Linked DNA regions of Homo sapiens: regions 1 and 3 are each linked to region 2. The links are contacts of gene promoters, found by promoter capture Hi-C in blood cells and fetal thymus (Javierre and others, 2016). All regions are on one chromosome and are shown on one strand. Each heading gives the region's core, a stretch centred on a gene start or on the middle of the fragment in contact. The rest is flanking DNA. Distances are from core to core; before and after follow the strand shown. Region 1 overlaps SON (SON DNA and RNA binding protein). Region 2 holds the start of MORC3 (MORC family CW-type zinc finger 3). Region 3 overlaps SON (SON DNA and RNA binding protein).

Region 1 (2,960 bases), core at 125-2,624, 2.7 Mb after region 2:
AAGGCAACAGGAAGAAGTAACATTATTGTCAGCAGCTGGTCTACTATACTCTAACCCAACTTAACTACTGAGCTTGGAAGAAAAAAGCAAACAGGGTTTATGAAATCTAGACTAAACCAGTATTGTAATAGGAAATAATGAAGATGTGCTAAAATATCTAACAAAAAATAAACTAAACTCTAGAAAAAAGGATGGTTCCTTGTCAAGAGAAAATAAAATGGAAATCCTGTTTTCTAAACATGAAATCCAGTTGAATTTGGAGGTGTAATAATAAAATTAGATATATACACATTTCCATATTTAGCAACTAGCATAACAAAAGGTGCCTTTTAAAAGTTCAAACTGGTGTCTCTATCCATAGTTATATAAAAATAAGCTGCTCTGTGAACCCCAAAAGGGGTTAATGTTTTTTCTGACAAATACCTGTATATATACAAGAAGTGCCTTCAGTTCAGTATCACTGGGTTCAAAAGGATATATTAAAGGTAATGTTAAAGGAGACGTTAATAAACATTCCAAAAAAGAACTTGTTACCTTTTCGGTCTGTCTTAAAATCAACTAGGATGGGTTCCTTATTGCCTTCTTTGTTTTTTCCTAATCCTTCTCCTTCTCTCCAGCCCATTTTTCTCATCAAAACGGCTCCCATTCCTCCAGTTACCGGGGCTGCTCTTAAGAACTGATCCTATCCAAAGAAAGAAAGGTAAAATGTCCCCATTTTACAGTTAGAACTTGGTGACAGATTCATTGTTTACTTTCTAAAAAGAGGAATCTTACTTTACTTCTAGATCTGTTATAGCAATTAAATGTAAATTCCTCTATACTTTATACATACTGTAGTGTGTATGTTCTGATTATTTGCACATTAACGTAATAGTATTTTGGAAGTCAAATAAGACAAGTAAATGGCAGTTTTGAAACAGTAGCCCTCGTGCCCCCCTCAAAAAAAAAAAATTAGAACACTCCTGTTTTCGTCCACTATTTAGGTTCACTGGTATCTCTTCTTAGCTTGCAAAATAAAAAGAAGGCAATGTTAAAACAATCAATGATATTAATTGTCCCAGGTGTACCTAGTTTATGAATAAAGCCCAGAAATCACTTAGAAATAGTTTAGACACTGAAGAAGCATACTGTTGTCATCCAAAGTTTTCTTCCCCATTCTACTATAAAGCAAGTATAAATATTTTACTTAGAAAATCCCTAAAGCAGAAAAAAAAAAAAAAACTCTTGAAATTTACACAGTAACAAATAGAAAACAATCACATAAAATATCCTGTAAGTATGCCAAAATGAATTTGAATTCTTTTAAAACCTAGCTTGATGTTAAAAGACTTTTAAAAAACTCCTTAAATGTTTACATACCTAGGCCTCGGTAGCAGCAGTGTTGTGAATAGTACGGCTGGCACTGACCGGGGCAAGAAGACAGCTACAAGGATTTGGCCCTGAAACAAGTTTCCATACAGAGGGGTGAAAGTTCACAGGTTATTCTGTGAACAGTCATCTCTCTTGTATCCAACCCACTGAACCATAATTTCCATCAAAGCAGCAAACCACTTAATGTCCTAAGATGCACAAGTATATATACATTAGCATGGTCAACAGTTATTTTTACAGGTTAAGAAATATTCAATGCCTCTTATTAAAGGGCATCCATGTACATATAGCAAACAGTATTAAGTTGTACTGTTGATCTTTATGGTCATTTTTTAAAAATTTGAAACATATCTCCAAATCATGCTTTATTTTCCCCTTGTTACTAAATTTTAGGTTTTTATGTTCTCTTACCAAATATATATATATATATATATATAAATATATAATATAGCAAAAGTCATTAACTTATCAACAGAGAGAGTAAAAAAACTTCAGTAGCTCAGGAAATAGTATGCACATCTCCTATATTGATAAGTTAATACTGAATGTAAAAAAGAAATGTTTGTATGCAGTAGTAAAACTGTATCTATCATCTTTTGTTTCCCAGCTTTGTAATTAAATGCTGGGGAGAAAACATGCCAATGACGTGTGACTAGACATTAAGTTCATCAAGGTGCTCTGATGGAAGGAGGCAGCTGTGGAGGTAAAAACATACCCCTGGTTCAGTTCCTTATTTGGTGCAGGCCATGCAGTGTAGATGTATAAAGAGAAAGCTGATGCTTGGATATTAACTGCCTTGATGCTACACACCTAGAATGTCTTTTACTTACTTCCAGGTTCATCCGTCCCTCTTTTCCAGGGAACACGCCTAAAAAAAAGGGCAACTGTGCAGAGTACAATATAAATCCCCAAATAACCCAGGTTTCCAATTTTGTTTCCATTCCCTAGTATCATCATCTGTTTCTTTACCCCAGTGTGAAAAAGCTGATTAATTTAATGAGACCACAATAACAAACTGTATTTATCAGGTCACATCCAAATCATTCCATTCTAGAAATAAAATTTCTTTTAAACGAACTACTTTAAATGTTTTACTGATTAATGAGACTACTGATAAAACTTTGCTTTTTTTGTAATCTAAAAATACACTGCAACAAACTAAAAAGAACACGGAGGATGTTGGTATTCCATGTGTTTTTTAACACATAAGGCAGATGCTGGACTATACTAAAGAAGAGCCAAAATGATCGTTTGACAGGTTTTCTAAACACAACTAAACATTTAATGAGTAGACAATATTTGTGATATTTAACATGGATCATACATCCTAAATTTTCAGCTGCCTAATGACTTCTACATGTTGTGGCCCATTTTTAATTTTCAAAAGTTTCTTTTTTAGTTGATACTAGCATCAAATATTCTTCAGTAATTCTATACAAATGAATCTTTTCCTTTAAGTGCTACTTTTATCTATAATTTAAAATTTGGTCTGAACATATCTTTATCTCATAATTTATCAAAATAATTTGCTTCCCAAAGTATATCTTACATAAAATATAAAGTTGAAGCCTTTTTTCAAGGTGCTACTA
Region 2 (3,120 bases), core at 374-2,873:
GACAGAAACAGGAAATCAACTCACTCCGTTTCTCCACTACAGGTTTCTGGGCCTGAACAAGACTCAACCTCGAGAGAGGAAGGAGAGAGAAGTGGGGAAAGGAGATAGGGGAAAGAGAGGGGGAAAAGGGAGGGAGAGAGAATAGAGATTTTAAACTAGGTAAGGCCAGACTTTACAATACCTTAAGCTAATGGGAAAGCGTTAGTCAACCCAGATTCACACAAGTGGGGAATAATTAATGTTTACACTCAGTGGTTAAAAAAAAAAAAAAGAAAAAAAGAATAAAATTGTCCTCTATTTTCAAACTACTAAAGCCTAGCTCACTCAATAAGCTAGTTACATAACGAAAGGATGGACCTTTATCCAGAATACGTAAAGAACTCTTACAAATCAATAAAGATCCTCCCAAAAGAAAAACAGAAAATGGTCAAAGGATATGAATAGGCAATTCAAAAAAACAAAACAAAAAACCACAAAGACTAATACATGCGAAGAGCTCAACAACACAAACAGTCAAGGAAACGCAAGTAAAAGCAAATATCATTTCACAAATATCGGACTAGAAAAAATTTAAAGTCCGTCAAAACCAGGTGTTAGAATCTGCCTAAACGAATGAAAGTCCCAGAGCAATGCACCAATTATTCACTACGTGTTTGTACCCCAAGGAGTCACTACCCATTCGAATGTTAAAATTAGTGGCACTAGGGCAGTCATTCTTTGGCAAAAGTCAACAACCTCCAGAAAAGAGGAACATTTCAGCATAACATCAACTGCGCTCACAAGGTAGAAAAGTTTTTTAGGATAATCAGGTGGGGAAGCCACGCCCACATTTCCTGGACGTGAGATTTCAAGTTATCTTGTGTGACCGCTCCCTACGATTTAAGATACAAGAAATGTTCACAGGGTTTCCAAGAACTCGAAACGCCCCAAAACAGACGCAACGCGGGATAAAGAGGAGAGCTCGAGCTCAGCGATCTAGGGTCTGGGCCCCAAGGCTTCCACTGCCAAGGAAGCTGCAGGCACTGACAGGCATCAGGCACACTCATCCTGACTCCACTCGCCCGCAGGCAGGCCCGCAGCCCCGTCCCCCCGCCCCCGGGACGTCGAGGCCGCCGGCGTTTCTGGACGCGGAACCCGCTCCCTCCCACCACGACGCCCAGCGGACAGAAGAGGGTCAGGGGCCCCGCGGCCCCGAGAGCAGACCGATCTCCCGCCGAGGCCTCGCCCGCGGACGACAGCTGCTGGGAGACTAGGAGGGAGCTGGGAGGAGGAGCCGCGACCCTGGCCCGCCCCGAAGCAAAACAGAAACACAATGCAGAGGCGACGGAACGCAGCCCGGCCCGCAGCCGAGCTGTTCCGCCGACGGGAGCGAGATGGCCGCCCCCTCCCCGGGCCCCGCCGCAGCCCCCGCCGCCGCGTCGGCCCCACAAGCCGCCACCGCCCACTGCCGGCCCCCCTTCGCTTGCCCGCCCGCCCTCCTGGGACACGGCCCGCTCCACCCCTCGCGGCTGCTCACCGCGCTGAGGCGTATCCCGCGGGGTGGCTGCGCCGCCATCTTGAGCGAGCTACAAAGCCAGGAACGGCCTCCGCCGCAACCCGACTGGGAGGTGGCGGAACGACTGTGGAGCCCTATGGGTACCGCCCACTTCCGGGGAGGGGCGCACGTCTGGCCCCTCCCACCCACTTCCGCCTCCAGGCAATGCCGAATTGGGAGCTTGGGGAAGATGAATTGCCTGACTGGTTAAAGCAGGGTACAGTGGGAGCTGAGCTTCCAGCGCGGGGCCCTGCGGGCCTAGGGCGCATGCGCGAGGCGCGGCCGGCCCGTACCCGTCTCGACACCCAGCTGGAGCTCGAGACTCGGGGATCTAGAGTTTGAAGCCTGGCGCGAGATGCGGTATACCCGAGACCGGTGAACTCCAGTCACTTGACCTGGTCGGATGTGAATTGCGCAGAAAAAAGCCATTCCATATCCACCAGTGTCCATGTGAAACCTTAACGAAATAAAGACGGAAATTAATGTAGACTGTTTGGATTTGCCCTGAAAACTATCAATCTAACTCATGATTTAAAAAAAAAAAAAAGAGTTCTGGGGCCGGGCGCGGTAGCTCACGCTTGTAATCCCAGCACTTTGGGAGGCCGAGGTGGGCGGGCGGATCACCTGACTTCGGGAGTTCGAGACCAGCCTGACCAACATGGAGAAATCCCATCTCTACTAAAAATACAAAATTAGCCGGGCGTGGTGGTACATGCCTGTAATCCCAGCTACTCGGAAGGCTGAAGCAGGAGAATGCTTGAACCCAGGAGGCGGAGGTTGCAATGAGCCGAGATTGCGCCATTGCACTCCACCCTGGGCAACAAGAGTGAAACTCCGTCTCAAAATAAATAAATAAGAGTCCTAAAGGCATAAGGCCGGTGCAGTGGCTCATGCCTATAATCCCAACACATTGGGAGGTCGAGGTTGGGGGTTCACTTGATAGGGGTTCAAGACCAGCCTGGCCAACATGGTGAAACCCCATCTCTACTAAAAATACAAAAATTAGCTGGGCATATTAGTGGGCGCCTGTAATCCCAGCTACTCGGGGGGCTGAGGCAGGAGAAGTGGGTGAACCCAGGACAAGGAGGTTGCAGTGAGCCCAGATCGCGCCACTGTACTCCAGCCTGGGCGACAGAGTGAGACTGTCTCAAAAAAATTAATTATTTTTAGAAAGAGAAATTGGCTGGGTGCAGTGGCTCATGTCTGTAATCTCAGCACTTTGAGAGGCTACATTGCGAGGGTCTCTTGAACCCAGGAGTTCGAGACGAGCCTGGGCAACACGAGGAGACCTCATCTTTACAAAAAAAAAATTGAATTAGCTGGCAGGGCGTGGTGGCTCACACCTGTAATCCCAGCACCTTGGGAGGCTAAGGCGGGCAGATCACTTGAGGTCGGGTGTTTGAGACCAGCCTGACCAACATGGCGAAACCCCATCTCTACTAAAAATACAAAATTAGCCGGGTGTGGTGGCACATGCCCGTAATCCCAGCTACTGGAGAGGCTGAGGCAGGAGAATCACTTGAACCCAGGAGGTGGAGGTTGCGGTGAGCCAAGATCACACCACTGCACTCCAGCCGGGACAACAA
Region 3 (2,921 bases), core at 109-2,608, 2.8 Mb after region 2:
AAATAAACTATTTTTCATAAAACAGTTAACCTGGAGACTACTACTTTTCTGATAATTCTTTCCACAACTAATGCCTGGGTTAAAAATAAATTATTAAACACCAAAACTTACTTTGAATTACATTAAGACATGTTTCACTAAATTCTATTAAAATAATTATTCCCTCCAGCTCTCAAATCATAGCAAAATTACTTTTAAACTACTTTTGTCACTGAATATATTTCATGTTATTAGTTGCTACAGTTTCTATTAAAAATACCCACATAATATAATTTTTGCGATTATTAACCCTTGTTTATACAGGAAGCAACATGGCACTGGCTCTGGAACAGACTGCCACTTTTGAATCCTCAATCAGTTCATCACTTACTAGGTTAATGGTCTTGGCCAAATTACTGACACACTTGTGTCTTCTAGAGTTAGAGGATAAAGTGAGTTAAAACATGCAAAGTACATCAAATAATGCCTGGCACAGAATAAGCTTTCAACAAAGGTTAGTGATTGCTTCTACAGAGTATAAAAATATCTGAATAACAAATATAAAATATTCATAGAGAACTCAAATTTTACCTTATCATGCCTACGTTACATTCTAATAAAAATAATATTTTCCCCCAATACTATTCTGAAACCACTAAAATAACTTTTTAAATGTTTCTGTTTTAGAAAAGGATACTGATTTTAGAGAGGAAATTCTTAGTCCTTATAACTTAAGAAAGTTTGAATTTACATACCCTAAAGAGATAACATTTTCCCCCAATACTATTCTAAAACCACTAATAAATAACTTTTCAAATGTTTCTATTTTAGAAAAGAATACTGATTTTAGAGAGGAAATTCTTAGTCCTTAATTTACAACTTAAGAAGGTTTGAATTTACATACCCTAAAGAGATGGGAGTATTCAACTTTAACAACCAGATGGGATTTATTTACTCTAATGCCAATATCAAATTAGATAAATCTTAGGGACCCCCAAAAAAGCTCATCAGAAATCTGAGCCATTAAGACTACAGAAAAAAGGCCGGGCACTGTGGCTCACGCCTGTAATCCCAGCACTTTGGGAGGCCAAGACGTGTGGATCACGAGGCCAGGAGATCAAGACCATCCTGGCTAACACGGTAAAACCCCGTCTCTACTAAAAAAAAAAAAAATACAAAAAATTAGCCGGGCGTGGTGGTGTGCGCCTGTAGTCCCAGCTACTCCGGAGGCTGAGGCAGGACAATGGCGTGAACCCGGGAGGCGGAGCTTGCAGTCAGCTGAGATCACCCCACTGCACTCCAGCCTGGGCGTCAGAGCGAGACTCCGTCTCAAAAAAAAAAAAAAAAAAAAAAAAAAAGACTACAGAAGAAAATAAATCAACACTTGACATAGGCCAAAGCAAAACTTACCATTTTCTATTAATTGTTTGTTTCATAATACAAAATGTTAGATAAGTCATACTTCAATGAAGGTTGTTAGAGCCATGAATCTAAGCAAGTCTGTTTGAGAGTCATGAATCTAAGCACAGCTAAAGTTCCCCCCAAAAAAGAGGACAAACCAACCATATTACAAACTTGATTCCAGAACTAAATCAAGGTAATGACTGTTATTTTTGTGGCTAAATCCTTCATTTCTAAACATCAATTAATCAATTCCAAAAACGCTAAATATTCAAGCAATGATTCCTCTCCATCCACTGCAGTTTAAGTGGGATGGGTATTTTTACACAACTGTTTAATAAAAATCCATACTCAAATTCCTGATACTAAGAAACTTAATCAAGCCGGGCGCGGTGGCTCACGCCTGTAATCCCAGCACTTTGGGAGGCCAAGGTGTGCGGATCATGAGGTCAAGAGATCGAGACCAGACCACCCTGGCCAACACGGTGAAACCCCGTTTCTACTAAAAATACAAAAAAAAATTAGCCGGGCATGGTGGCAGGCGCCTGTAATCCCAGCTACTTGGGAGGCTGAGGCAGGAGAATCACTTGAACCTGGGAGGCGGAGGTTGCGGTGAGCCGAGATCACGCCATTGCACTCCAGGCTGGGCAAAAAGAGTGAAACTGTCTCAAAAAAAAGAAAAAAGAAAAGAAAAGAAAAAGAAACTGAATCAAATAAACTGAAACTAAGTCAAAAATAAAAATTATATTCTACCAGCAGAGTAAACAAGTACATCAATGTTTGTTTTCCAGTGGAAGTATGGAAGGAAAATTTAAACAAGAAAGTCTTCATTAAATCAATTAAACAAAAGCTTAAATTTACTGAAAAAAAAATTTTTTTTTGAGATGGAGTTTCATTCTTGTCGCCCAGGCTGGAGTGCAATGGCGCAATCTCAGCGCACTGCAACATTCGCCTCCTGGGTTCATGCGATTCTCCTGCCTCAGCTTCCCAAGTAGCTGGGATTACAGGCACCCACCACCACACCCGGCTAATTTTTGTATTTTCAGTAGAGATGGGGGTTTCTCCATGTTGACCAGGTTGGTCTGGAACTCCTGACCTCAGGTGATCCACCCACCTCAGCCTCCCAAAGTGCTGGGATTACAGGCGTGAGCCATCGCACCCAGCCTAAAGTTTTTAATTTAATAAATATCTTAAATACTGAAGTCAAAAACTAACATTAACCTTCAAATTTCAAAAAAATCTTAAAAGAAAATTTTTGAGACAGTTAATTATCTCCAACTTACCTGGCTTATATCGTAGTTCTGTATCTAAGACCCCAGAAAGTACTTCCTCTATCTTCTGCACTATTTCTTCATTTGGTAGACTCCTGGCAGAGGCAGCTGCATCACCCGCCTGGTTTCCTTCAATGGGTGTATTTGTTTCACCATTCAGCTGGCCTTCATTCCTTCCACTTGACATGAAAAGTTATCGAAATTCATTAATATTTTATCATACCATTAATAAAAAAATCCAATTAATTACAATAATCATATGTTGTACTG

What was found. The method cuts DNA at HindIII sites, captures the fragments that hold promoters and counts their contacts. A CHiCAGO score of 5 or more calls a contact.
Region 1: a fragment that was not itself captured here is called in contact with the fragment with the promoter of MORC3 in region 2 in 1 of 17 cell types (erythroblasts); the score reaches 6.0 in erythroblasts.
Region 3: a fragment that was not itself captured here is called in contact with the fragment with the promoter of MORC3 in region 2 in 1 of 17 cell types (erythroblasts); the score reaches 5.5 in erythroblasts.

What each region holds. Positions count from the first base shown.
Region 1 is chr21:33,571,030-33,573,989 of GRCh38, reverse strand. SON (SON DNA and RNA binding protein) reads right to left here. Exons shown (of 12, transcript NM_138927.4): 9 at 535-682. Among named protein-coding and RNA genes, the nearest start is that of DONSON, 16 kb to the left of the region's middle. The HindIII fragment of the contact is 3,711 bases long and covers 1-2,960 here.
Region 2 is chr21:36,318,700-36,321,819 of GRCh38, reverse strand. It overlaps MORC3 (MORC family CW-type zinc finger 3), which reads right to left and starts at 1,623. Exons shown (of 17, transcript NM_015358.3): 1 at 1,517-1,623. The coding sequence starts at 1,555. RefSeq lists a silencer at 1,040-1,499. The HindIII fragment of the contact is 27,571 bases long and covers 1-3,120 here.
Region 3 is chr21:33,546,122-33,549,042 of GRCh38, reverse strand. It overlaps SON (SON DNA and RNA binding protein), which reads right to left. Exons shown (of 12, transcript NM_138927.4): 2 at 2,664-2,830. Among named protein-coding and RNA genes, the nearest start is that of MIR6501, 3.1 kb to the left of the region's middle. The HindIII fragment of the contact is 1,749 bases long and covers 484-2,232 here.